Regions from separate parts of the Homo sapiens genome. Here regions 1 and 3 are each linked to region 2. Evidence: promoter capture Hi-C in 16 types of primary human blood cells and fetal thymus (Javierre and others, 2016). All regions are on one chromosome and are shown on one strand. Each heading gives the region's core, a stretch centred on a gene start or on the middle of the fragment in contact. The rest is flanking DNA. Distances are from core to core; before and after follow the strand shown. Region 1 overlaps NEBL (nebulette). Region 2 holds the start of PLXDC2 (plexin domain containing 2). Region 3 has its middle 28 kb from the start of ARL5B.

Region 1 (4,058 bases), core at 827-3,326, 1.0 Mb after region 2:
TGTGGCAACGGAAAGCTAGCGCTAGGACATGCGGAAAAAGGTAAAGTGGGGAAAAATAAAAGCAATTTGTCTTGCTCTTATCTTATGACAGGAATATGTTTAATACTGTTCAAAAGAAGAGAAGGAAAGAAAAGCAAAAAGAACAGAGGAAAAGAAACCCAGAGGCAAGGAATAAAAAAGTCCTATACAAAAAGACTCCACCACAAAGAAGATTGAGAGGCACAAGGAAAATGTAAGAGAAATAAGCAACTATTGTTCCTAAAAGGAAAGGGTAAAAGGTGCCTGAAAGAGAAATTGAGAAATCTGGGAACAGTCAGTTGAGTTTTTAAGGTGAAAAAATTGGATGAAGGCTACTATTTGGACATATAGACAAAAAGTTGAATTTGGAAGACACCAAATTGAACAGGGATGCCAAGTTTGGCCACTGAAAGAAGCTAAATGTAACAGGCAGCAATATGACAAAAATTGTTTCATTAGCAACCTAAGTGTCCATCAACAGATGAATGAATAAAGAAAATGTGGCACATATACACAACGGAATACTATACAGCCACAAAAATGAACGAGATCCTGCCATTTGCAACAACATGGATGGAACTGGAGGTCATTATGTTAAGTGAAATAAGCCAGGCACAGAACAACAGATTTCACATGTTCTCACTCATATGTGGGAGCTAAAATAGTGAGACCCCAGTTCTACAAAAAATAAAGAAATCAGCTGGGCATGGTGACATGCACCTATAGCCCCAGCTACTCGGGAGGCTGAACTTATGAAGACAGAGTAGAATGATGGCTACCAGCAGCTGGGAAGAGTGGTGGGGAGAGGAGATAAAGTGGAGATGGTTAAGGAGTGCAAAAATACCGTTAGAGAGAATGAGTTTAAGATCTAGTATTCAATGCCACAATAGGGTGACCATAGTTAACAATAATTTATTGTACATTTTAAAATAACTAAGAGTGGAATTGAAATGTTCCTAACAGAAAGAAACGACAAATGCTTGAACTGATGGATACCTCAATTATCCTAATTTGATCAATACACACTGTATGCCTGTATCAAAACATTACATTTACCCCATAAATATATACAACCATTATGTATCAATAACAATTATAAATTAGAAAATTTTAAAAATAATTATTTCATGATTTCTATCATTGGAGATTGGACACTTTGTTATTTTGCCTTATTTGGAAAAGACCTTTAGTAGTAAATGGTAGCTCTTAAAGACTCAAGGCTACAGAGACTTAAGAAGCTAAAGATAGCTGCTTATTAGACAATGGGGTACCAGTAAAAATGGCAATAGAGTGGAGGGATCCAAAAACAGTATTTGAAAGGGAGCGGGAAAGAGCTGGCCATAAGGAAATTTGCATTTTGATCTTAGGGGATACTCCAGGGATTTCAGAGTGAAAGAGGAAGAAAGCTCAGTGCTAGGAATGGAACAGATGACCAAGTGGCCTGCCACAAGAGAGCTACCCTTTCTAGTGGGACAAAGCAATAGTCCCCAGAGGGAGCCTGGCCTCAGGTGCTTCCACTCAATTAGGGAGCTGCAATATATGTTCCCCCAAACCTAACCAGAATAAAATCAGGGAGGAAAGCACCCCCCAGGAAGGACATGAAAATGTTCATATAGTACTTTTTTTTTTTTTTTTTTTTTTGGACAGGGTCTTGCTCTGTCACCCAGGCTGGAGTGCAGTGGAGGGATCATGGCTCACTGCAGCCTTGACCTCCTGGGCTCAAGCAATCTTCCCATCTTAGCCTCCCAAGTAGCTGGGGCTATAGGTGCATGTCACCATGCCTAGCTAATTTCTTTATTTTTTGTGGAGCTAGGGTCCCACTACGCTGCCCACGCTGGTCTCAAACTCCTGGCCTCAAGCCATCCTCCTGCCTTGGCCTCCCAAAATGCTGGAATTACAGACAGGAGCTACTGCACCTAGCCCACAGAGTACATCGTGATGGAAGGAAACAAGTTATAAATTTTGGCTCCTCTAATGTTTTTTTAAAAAAGCCTTTTTTTGGCTAGGCGCGGTGGCTCACACCTGTAATCCCAGCACTCTGGGAGGCAGAGACAGGCGGATCATGAGGTCAAGAGATCTAGACCATCCCTGGCCAACATGGTCAAACTCTATCTCTACTACAAATACGAAATTAGCTGGGAGTGGTGGGGTGCACCTAGTAGTAGTAGTCCCAGCTACTCAGGAGGCTGAGGCAGGAGAATCGCTTGAACCTGGGAGCGGAGGTTGCAGTGAGCTGAGATCGTGCCACTGCACTCCATCCTGGAGACAGAGCGAGAGTCCGTCTTAAAAAAAAAAAAAAAGTGTTTTTTTTTTAACCAGTTAAAATCTGGAAAGAAAGATAATAATACAGACTTTATAATTTGATTAGAAGTTATCTTGTAATATGTATTTATAAAATAATCATGAATGTAACAAGCTACAACATAGTCCATTACTGAGTTAAAATCCACAACAAATACATATAAATATATGTAAAATAATGAATATATACTGAAAAATTCAGTAAATATTGTTCCCAACACAATTATCGATTTTAGTTACAAAGAATTTCAGAAACTCCTATTTAAGAAAACAAAACAAAACAAAAAAAAAACGAAGGAAAACTTAATTGAATTAAGATCTGCAAAAGAACTTCGAATGCGTGTCTTTCCTTATATAACAGTCTCTGCTACCTCCTAGTGGGAGATACACGGAGTAACACAAAATATATATTTCTTAATTTATGTAAAGTTGTGAAAGAAACTCAACACTACCAGAGGTCCATTTTCCAGGGGAAAATGTTTTCCAAAACTTTAATTAGAATGATTTTACACAGTAATTAAGGCACTCATATCACTCTTTAGAGTTTGGGTTAAAATAAAAGTAACTCTGATGTTGCTAAAGACATCTAGGGGTCTTTAAAACAATAGCTACTGTGACAAATGGATAATTTTGGCAGAATATCTCTTATTGAGCAATCTTATTCAATCTTTTAATTTATAAATCAACACAACTCCAATTTTTTACATTAAAATGTTAAAGTAGGCTATTCTTTGTTTCTTCACAAATGCTAGATAAAGGAGGCCATTCTAATATACAATAAAGTTGAGCAAATGTATACAGCTTTATACAATGTACACAACTTTGTAAGGAGACACTTCAAAAGGAACACATTTTTAAGTCTTTCTCTCCCAGGAAGTAGTCAATCACAATTTGTCTATGGGGAAAAAGAAATCTGTCCTCTAGGCAAAAGCACCACCTAAATGAAGATCTAAACTTTATATATGATACATGAAATAAGTAACGTATGACTTTGCTGTGTTTTCTCTGTTGAAGAGATGATAGAAACAATTTATATTAGACTGCGATTTTTTTCTCTGTTATTATAAAATAAAGGTCAACGTTCTTGAAAAGCAATATTGCATAGGAGTGGCACGCTTTCTTCCAGCCACCAAATGTTGAAATTACCACCATGATATTTTTATTGGCTTATTTACACATGAATCCCCATGTCCCTAGGAAATTGAATTTAAGTATGGCTAGAGAAAGGTCAAGGGCAAATGCCACTGCCATGATGAAAACTGGATGCCAAAGAATGAATGTGAAGAAAGCAGGGGGCTCAGGGAATAGAAATATATCAATTTTAGAAGCATATCTATGAGTCGTGGAGAAAAAAGACAGAAATAGAGACACTCAAGGAATAGAGGAATGTAAAAAGAGGTGTGGGAATGAAGACTGAAGTGCAAGCCAGCATGATGTAAGTGTCCTGGAACTGACTGCCAATTCTGGGCCCTCCAGATATTCCTCTAACCTCCATTCCCTGTTCAATAGCCTGGGAACATTAATGTACTGCTTTTCATCCAAGGACCAATGATTAAAAAAATAAATAAATTTATTTTTATTTTATTTTATTCTATGTATTTATTTATTTTTTAGACAGAGTCTCACTCTTGCCTAGGCTGGAGCACATTGGTGCCATCTCAGCTCACAGCAACCTCCCAAGTTTAAATGATTCTCCTGCCTCAGTCTCCTGAGTAGCTGGGATTATAGATGCCCACCAC
Region 2 (3,860 bases), core at 1,313-3,812:
CTGCGAATACGCACATAAAATAATAAAGGAAAAAAGAAAGAAAATGATAGCAAGGAGAGGTGGAGATTTGCTTGTTCTCAGAGGAGGAAACACCTATTTTTCTACTGTGAAAGAAGGAGAAATAACTCGGTCTGAAAAAAGAGGTGCTTTCTTGAAATGGTTTCCGCTGGATTCCCCATTATTTTAGATATGATGGGAGCTGGAGTTGTGCAGAATATTTTGGGACGCTTTCCGCATGGATTTATGATCCTCAAAAAGAATCGGCATCAATTAAACTATAGTTGACCCTTGAACAGTATGGGGGTCAGGGGGACGGACCCCCACACAGTAGAAAATTAATGTATAATTTCGACTCCTCATAAACTTAACTGCTAATACCCTACTGTTGATTAGAAGCATTACTGATAATATAAAAACAGTTGATTAACACATATTTGGTATGTTCTACATATTACATACTGTATTCTTAAAATAAAGTAAGCTAGAGAAAAGAAAATGTTAAGAAAATCATAAGGAAGATAAATATACTTACTGTTTATTAAGTGGAAGTGGATCATCAGAAAGGCTTTCATCCTCATCGTCTTCACATTGAGTGGGCTGAAGCGGAGGAAGAGGAGGGGTTAGTCTTGCTCTGTTAGGGGTGGCAGAGGAGGAAGAAAATCCATGCAAAAGCGGATCCTCGCAGTTCAAACCCCTGTTGTTCAAGGGTCAACCGCACAATCAGGTTTTGATGAGAAGACTCAGTTTTCAAACTTGATTTTAAGCAGGTATATATCCGGGTACTCAAATTCGGATGTAATATTACATAGAACTTAAACACTCCTAGTTAAGCAGAAATAGAAAAACCCAGTTACCTAAGTAGAAATCAACCTATGGGAGGAAAGCTCAGGAAAGAGCCAGGGTCCTGGCATAATAAAGAGTATAGGCATGATATATGTTTGTGTTTATACGTGTATATCTGTTGTTTGGAAATAAAGAGCAAATTGAGTATTGGATTAAGGGAAACCTTTCTTGTTTCCCATGAGAGAGCCGTCCTTTGAGCATCACATTTGCAAAGGTAGATTGATTATCCGGATCCACTTCCAGTGGGTTTTGTGGCAAGCCGAGACATCTATTGACAGCATCCATAGACTCTTCAGAGCTTGGAGTGGAAAGGACCTTGAACTTAGAACACATGCACATTTATTATGTGATTGAAGTCGTCTTCTCTCACTTTTGCTTCAGTAAACACTTAAACAAAGCCATGTACTTTGCGGTAGGCAATGTTCTATATTTATTAAATATACAGTTAACTCATCCAATCCATTGCAACCACCTTATAAGGGCGTTACTCTAATTCTCTCCATTTGATGGATGGATAACTGAGGCTAGGAGATAAACTGCTCATTGCGGGGGAGGTGAAATTCCAGCCCAGGCTGTCCGGGCTCTAGATCCTGTACTTTTAACCAATAGCGCTTTGCTTCTTTTCCTTGTATTTATCCCTTTCAAAAATGATTAACTGTATGCAAAATAAGATATCAACTAACGAGAGGGCCGGCAAGGGTTAACGCGGAAACAGATCCCCGAGCTGAAAAAACAAAAACAAACTGGGGAGCCAGAGCCCCTGAAAGCTCCGGTAGGAAATTCAATGGGCCTCCTGTTCCTTTAAACTCTCGCTTTCGCCCCCGCTGACACTTTGCAAAGCCGCGGCGGCAGCGGCGGGGACCACGCTGCGGTGCACCACCTTCCGCCACCCTCCCGCGCTGGGCTGGGGTCGAGGGGGCTTCGCAGAGTCGGTAACCGAACCGGCTCTGGTTTGCTTTCTCCACTCCCTAGCCACTACCAGAACCAGCCTCCGCGAAGGGGCGAGCTGTGGTTAACCCTTTCGTGCCCAGGGAGACCCCGCCAGGGTCGGGGCGGGGCGCGATCGCCCCCCGCAGTCGGGCGCGAAGGCGGCCCGGGAGCCAGGTGGGTGTGGGGCGCAGTTGGCGGAGCTGCCCAGGGCGTGCGAGCAGGCTGCGAGGATGGCGCCCCGGCGGCGCGGAGGTACCGCCCCGCGCTCCCCCGATAGCTCCCCGGCCTGTCCCCTCTCCCCGCGCTCTGGGGCAGCCGGCTGCCTGGGGCGCACGGGGCTGGAGTGGCCCTCTCCCTCCCCTTCGCTAGGCTCCCCCGGCTTAATCTGTTGGCCGCGACTCCTCAGCCAGCCCCGAGGAAAGTGCAGCCATTGGACAGGTCTGTGCGGGCTGCCGGTTTCAGGGAGGAAGGTGGGAGAAGCCTGGAGGAGCGAAGGGGAGGGCGGAGGGAGGAGGGAGGAGGGTGCGGCGGCAGATCTGGCAAATTGCGAGCTGCCTTCCCTCCTCAAAGTGTGGAGAAGGAGCGCGGGGGAGCGTGGCGACGGCAGCGCCTCCTCCGCCACCAAACTCCTGGGGCTCCGCGGGGGCTTGGGGCCACCTCCTCCTGAGCCCGGAGGAACCCTCTCCCGATAGGTTCCAGCGTGACTCCCTCCCACTCCACCCTTTTCCTTTCTTCTTCCTCTTTTTTTTTTTTTTTTTTAAACACATTTTTTTCCTGGCTTCGGACCTCAGACTGCTGCAGCCCTAACCTTCCCAGGGCTCAGCTCTTTGGAGCTGCCCATTCCTCCGGCTGCGAGAAAGGACGCGCGCCCTGCGTCGGGCGAAGAAAAGAAGCAAAACTTGTCGGGAGGGTTTCGTCATCAACCTCCTTCCCGCAAACCTAAACCTCCTGCCGGGGCCATCCCTAGACAGAGGAAAGTTCCTGCAGAGCCGACCAGCCCTAGTGGATCTGGGGCAGGCAGCGGCGCTGGCTGTGGAATTAGATCTGTTTTGAACCCAGTGGAGCGCATCGCTGGGGCTCGGAAGTCACCGTCCGCGGGCACCGGGTTGGCGCTGCCCGAGTGGAACCGACAGTTTGCGAGCCTCGGCTGCAAGTGGCCTCTCCTCCCCGCGGTTGTTGTTCAGTGTCGGGTGAGGGCTGCGAGTGTGGCAAGTTGCAAAGAGAGCCTCAGAGGTCCGAAGAGCGCTGCGCTCCTACTCGCGTTCGCTTCTTCCTCTTCTCGGTTCCCTACTGTGAAATCGCAGCGACATTTACAAAGGCCTCCGGGTCCTACCGAGACCGATCCGCAGCGTTTGGCCCGGTCGTGCCTATTGCATCGGGAGCCCCCGAGCACCGGCGAAGGACTGGCGGGTGGGGTAGGGAGGTGGCGGCGGCGGCATGGCGAGGTTCCCGAAGGCCGACCTGGCCGCTGCAGGAGTTATGTTACTTTGCCACTTCTTCACGGACCAGTTTCAGTTCGCCGATGGGAAACCCGGAGACCAAATCCTTGGTAAGTAAGATGCACTTTAGCTTGCTGATTTTGTGCGCAGCTGAAGACCTCTCTGGCACTCTCGTGCTCCCTACCCTCTCCCCCCAACATCACCTATCTGCCCTTGGGAAACTTATTGCAGTTGCTTTTCGGCTAAACTTAGGCTTCCCAAATGGGGAAAGAGGGTTATCAAGAGAAGGACGCCGGGGACTAGGGGTTTTCTTGAGGCTTTCGGGCTTACTTCACCTGGGCGGCAGGGGGTGGTACTGTCTCCCCAAAGTAGCCCAGGGAGGGCTTCAGTGTGAGAGCAAAGCTTCTTCCGTGGATACATCTCCTAGGACCTGGCATCTCCAGGCTGTGTGCTCTCCGGCTCCTCCTCCTTCCTCGCTGCTGGTTAAACTAAGCGTGTGTGGTATGGGGTGGGTGGGGGACGTTGTGAAAGCCAGGGATTGCAGGTCTCCCCTCTGCACGAGAAAATTCCCTGTGGCAGCACCTTCCTTCCCCTGGCGATCCCCACTAGCTCCGTCTAGTGACCTGGGCCAAGCGGGCGCTGGAAGGG
Region 3 (3,829 bases), core at 1,318-3,817, 1.1 Mb before region 2:
TGAATGGTGGAGTCCTCAGTAGAGTTATAACTTCCAGTGACTCCAATGAATCCCACTCTGTAGACCAGCCCCTACATTTCTAGATGAGACTCCTTTGATGATAACCTACCAGTAAGACAAATTGTGGTGCACTCTCTTAATGGGAGAAACTAATAACCCTGCTTTTGATGGGGAAGGGCCAATATGGGTATGCGCCCATAAAACTGAGAATAAAAAGGTTTTGTACTCCAGATTCAAGAAAGGAAAAATACTGTCTTTTTGCTATATCCCTACAGGTAAGAACGACAGCCCCACATGAATGCGTACGTCTCTGACAATCAATCAGTGACGAATCAGTGACGAGCCAATGCTTCAGAAAGTCAGCCAGTCAGTGAAAGTGAATGATCATGCTTCCACTGGGGGAATTTGATAAGAAGATTGAAACTCTTCCAATTCCCTGTGTTCCATTCAAACCGTATTTTTGCTCATAGAGACTAACCCTTAGAGTGATTCTCAAACAATGATGTCAGCATCAACTAGGAACTTGTTAGAAATGCAGATTTTCAGACTCCATCCCAGACTTTTTATATTAGAAACTCTCAAGGTAAGGGCCCAGAAATCTAGTTCAACAAGCCCTTCAGATGATTCCAATGGAAGTTAAAGTTTGAGAACCACTGCCTTATAAACCCAACTCTTCCTTGCTTTGGAAGGAATATCTGTTTTACATATTCACTGGTGGCCTTTTGCTTTAACAAAGTGAGACCATTATTATTTCTGGAGGAAAAGTGAAGAGATGGACCGAACACACTGTGCAGGGAGAAAGCTGGTGGAGGGGACAGGGTGGTGCTCATCAGTCATAGGGAAGAACCCTGAGAGAGGAAAATAAGGGTTCCTCAGCTGAACATATATTGGGAATTCAGATAGAATACACTAACATTAGCCATAGCAACCCAAGCTTGCTGGACTTAAAGTAGGAAAAAGAGCCTGGCAAACTCCAATCTGAGAGCCTGGAAAATGGCAATATCCAGCTTTATTTTATTTTATTTTTTTAGACAGAGTGTCACTCTGTCGCCCAGGCTGGAGTGCAGTGGCGCGATCTCTGCTCATTGCAACCTCCGCCTCCTGGGTTCCAGCAATTCCCCTGCCTCAGCTCCCGAGTAGCTGGAATTACAGGCATGTGCCACCACGCCTGGCTAATTTTTGTATTTTTCAGTAGAGGTGGGTTTTCACCATGTTGGCCAGGCTGGTCTCAAACTCCCGACCTCAAGTGATCCGCCCACCTCGGCCTTCCAAAGTGCTGAGATTACAGGCATGAGCCACTGCACCTGGCCCTATCCAGCTTTTAAGGTTACTTTATCTCCAGGCTAGTGGTGAGAGTTAATGAGACACAAACCCCACCCAACAAATGGGGTGACTGGGAATATCCTGAGAGTGAATAAAAGCCTTTTATATCCTTAGCAAGCAGGTTTGGGAGAATGCAGAATCAAACAGTTGCCAGGGATACCCCTTTCCTTTTTTAAAAAACAGACTTTACTCTTATTTTGTTAAATTTTTATTTTATTTATTTATTTATTGACGTGAGTTTTCACTTTTGTTGCCCAGGCTGGAGTGCAATGGTGCGATCTTGAATCAGTGCAACCTCCACCTCCTGGGTTCAAGCGATTCTCCTGCCTCAGCCTCCCGAGTAGCTGGGATTACAGGCACTCGCCATCATGCCCGGCTAATTTTTGTATTTTTAGTAGAGATGGGATTTGACCATGTTGGCCAGGCTGGTCTCGAACTCCTGACCTCATGATCTGCCCACCTCGGCCTTCCAAAGTGCTGGGATTACAGGTGTGAGCCACCACGCCTGGACTAAAATAGGCTTTATCCTTTCGATTCACAGAAACATTGAGGAGAAAGTATAAAGAGTTCCCATATACCATCTGCCATTCCCTCCCACCCCCACACAGCCTCCCTTACTGTCAACATCCTGTACCACAGCGGTACATTTGTTATGACTGAAGAACCTACAGGGCACGTCATCGTCACCCAAAGTCCATAGGGTTTACTCTTGGTATTGTAGATTCTATGGGGTTTGACGCATGCATAATAACATGCACTCACCATTATAATATCATACAGAATACTTTCAGTGTTCTAAAATCCCTCTGCTTTGCCTGTTCCTCCTTCCCTTCCACCTAACCCCTGACAGCCACTGATCTTTTTGCTGTCTGTATAATTTTGCCTTTTGGAGAATGTCATATAGTTAGAATCATACAGTATGTAGCCTTTTCAGATTCGCTTTTTTCATGGTAATATGCATTTAAACTTCCCGCGTGTCTTCTCATTGCTTGACAGCTCATTTTTTTTTCTTTCCCCAAATTAACTTTTCATTTTATTTGCGAGTTTTTAACGTGAAGGGTAATACAGGTACAGGAAAGTGCACATTCCAGAAGTGGACAGTTCAGGAATTTTCACAAATTGAAACTATGCATGTCAGCAGTACACTGATCAAGAAAGAGAACAGGAGAACAAGCCAGATGGCTTGTGCAGCAACCTGGTGGCTCATGCCTGCAATCCCAGCACTTTGGGAGGCCGAAGTGGGAGGGACTGCCTGATCCCAGGAGTTTGAGACCAGCCTGGGCAACATAGTAAGACTCCATCTCTACAAGAAATAAACAAATAAAACAATACCTGGCTAATTTTTGTGTATGTTTAGTAGAGACGGGGTTTCACTGTGTTGGCCAGACTGGTCTCAAACTCCTAACCTCAGGTGATCCGCCCACCTCGGCCTCCCAAAATGGGATTACAGGCATTGAGTCACCACCGCCGGCTGACATAGATTATTCTTAATGTTCCTTTCTGTTATGAAGTCGTTCCTGATTTTAAAAAAATCATATATGTAATATGCTCTGAAAATCAAATACAATGTACCTGTAACAGATATATTGCAGTTTATAATACTGTTTAACAGTAGGTATATATTAGCTAAGAAAATTTTAAAATCTGGGCCAGGTGCGGTGGCTTACATCTGTAATCCCAGAACTTTGGGAGGCTGAGGGGGCGGATCACCTGAGGTCAAGAGTTTGAGATCTACCTGGCCAACATGGTGAAACCCCGTCTCTACTAAAAATACAAAAATTAGCCAGAGCATGGTGGTGAGTGCCTGTAGTCCCAGCTACTTGGGACACTGAGGCAGGAGAATTGCTTGAACCTGGGAGGAGGAGGTTGCAGTGAGCCAAGATTGCACCACTGCACTTCAGCATGGGCAGCAGAGCCAGAAACCATCAAAAAAAAAAAAAAAAAGAAAAAAGAAAAAAATGTTAATATGGTATTAGAAAACTACAATGTAAACAATCACAAAAGATAGTTTAAGCTGAAGCATTAGCAATAAAATATGTAATCAGTAAATGAGAGGCTTTGGGGTTTGTTTTCCTTCTCATCCTCTCTCTCTCCTCTTCCTCCTCTTTCTTATTTTCTTCTTCCTCATTTTTCTCTCTCCTCTTCCTTTCTTCCCTCTTGCTTCTCCTCTTCTTCCCACTGCCTTCTTCTTCCTCCTTTTCCTTCTCATCATTCTCTTTCTCTCTCCTGCCTTCTCCTTTTTTCCATTCTCTAGTCCTGACAGTCAGTAAACCCATGTCACGGTAAGTTAAGGGATGTATTTCTTGTTCTTCTTGACCTTGTTCAGAGTCTCACTCTGTCACCCAGGCTGGAGTGCAGTGGTGCAATCTAGGTTCACTGCAACCTCGGCCTCCCGGGTTCAAGTAATTCTCCTGCCTCAGACTCATAAGTAGCTAGGTTTACAGGCACGTGCCACCACACCCAGCTAATTTTTGTATTTTTGGTAGAGGTGGGGTTTTACCATGTT

The links. Contacts are between HindIII fragments. The CHiCAGO score rates a contact against its expected background, and 5 or more counts as called.
Region 1: a fragment that was not itself captured here is called in contact with the fragment with the promoter of PLXDC2 in region 2 in 1 of 17 cell types (M2 macrophages); the score reaches 5.8 in M2 macrophages.
Region 3: a fragment that was not itself captured here is called in contact with the fragment with the promoter of PLXDC2 in region 2 in 1 of 17 cell types (megakaryocytes); the score reaches 5.1 in megakaryocytes.

Annotation. Positions count from the first base shown.
Region 1 is chr10:20,852,925-20,856,982 of GRCh38, forward strand. All of the region lies in intron 9 of NEBL (nebulette), which reads right to left. All of the region lies in intron 2 of LOC102725112 (a long non-coding RNA gene), which reads left to right. Among named protein-coding and RNA genes, the nearest start is that of NEBL, 42 kb to the right of the region's middle. The HindIII fragment of the contact is 9,153 bases long and covers 1-4,058 here.
Region 2 is chr10:19,813,870-19,817,729 of GRCh38, forward strand. It overlaps PLXDC2 (plexin domain containing 2), which reads left to right and starts at 2,563. Exons shown (of 14, transcript NM_032812.9): 1 at 2,563-3,322. The coding sequence starts at 3,211. LOC124902388 (a long non-coding RNA gene) reads right to left here and starts at 2,359. Exons shown (of 2, transcript XR_007062078.1): 1 at 533-2,359. RefSeq lists an enhancer at 1,487-2,252. The HindIII fragment of the contact is 8,470 bases long and covers 1-3,612 here.
Region 3 is chr10:18,685,435-18,689,263 of GRCh38, forward strand. No RefSeq gene overlaps it. Among named protein-coding and RNA genes, the nearest start is that of ARL5B, 28 kb to the left of the region's middle. The HindIII fragment of the contact is 3,270 bases long and covers 933-3,829 here.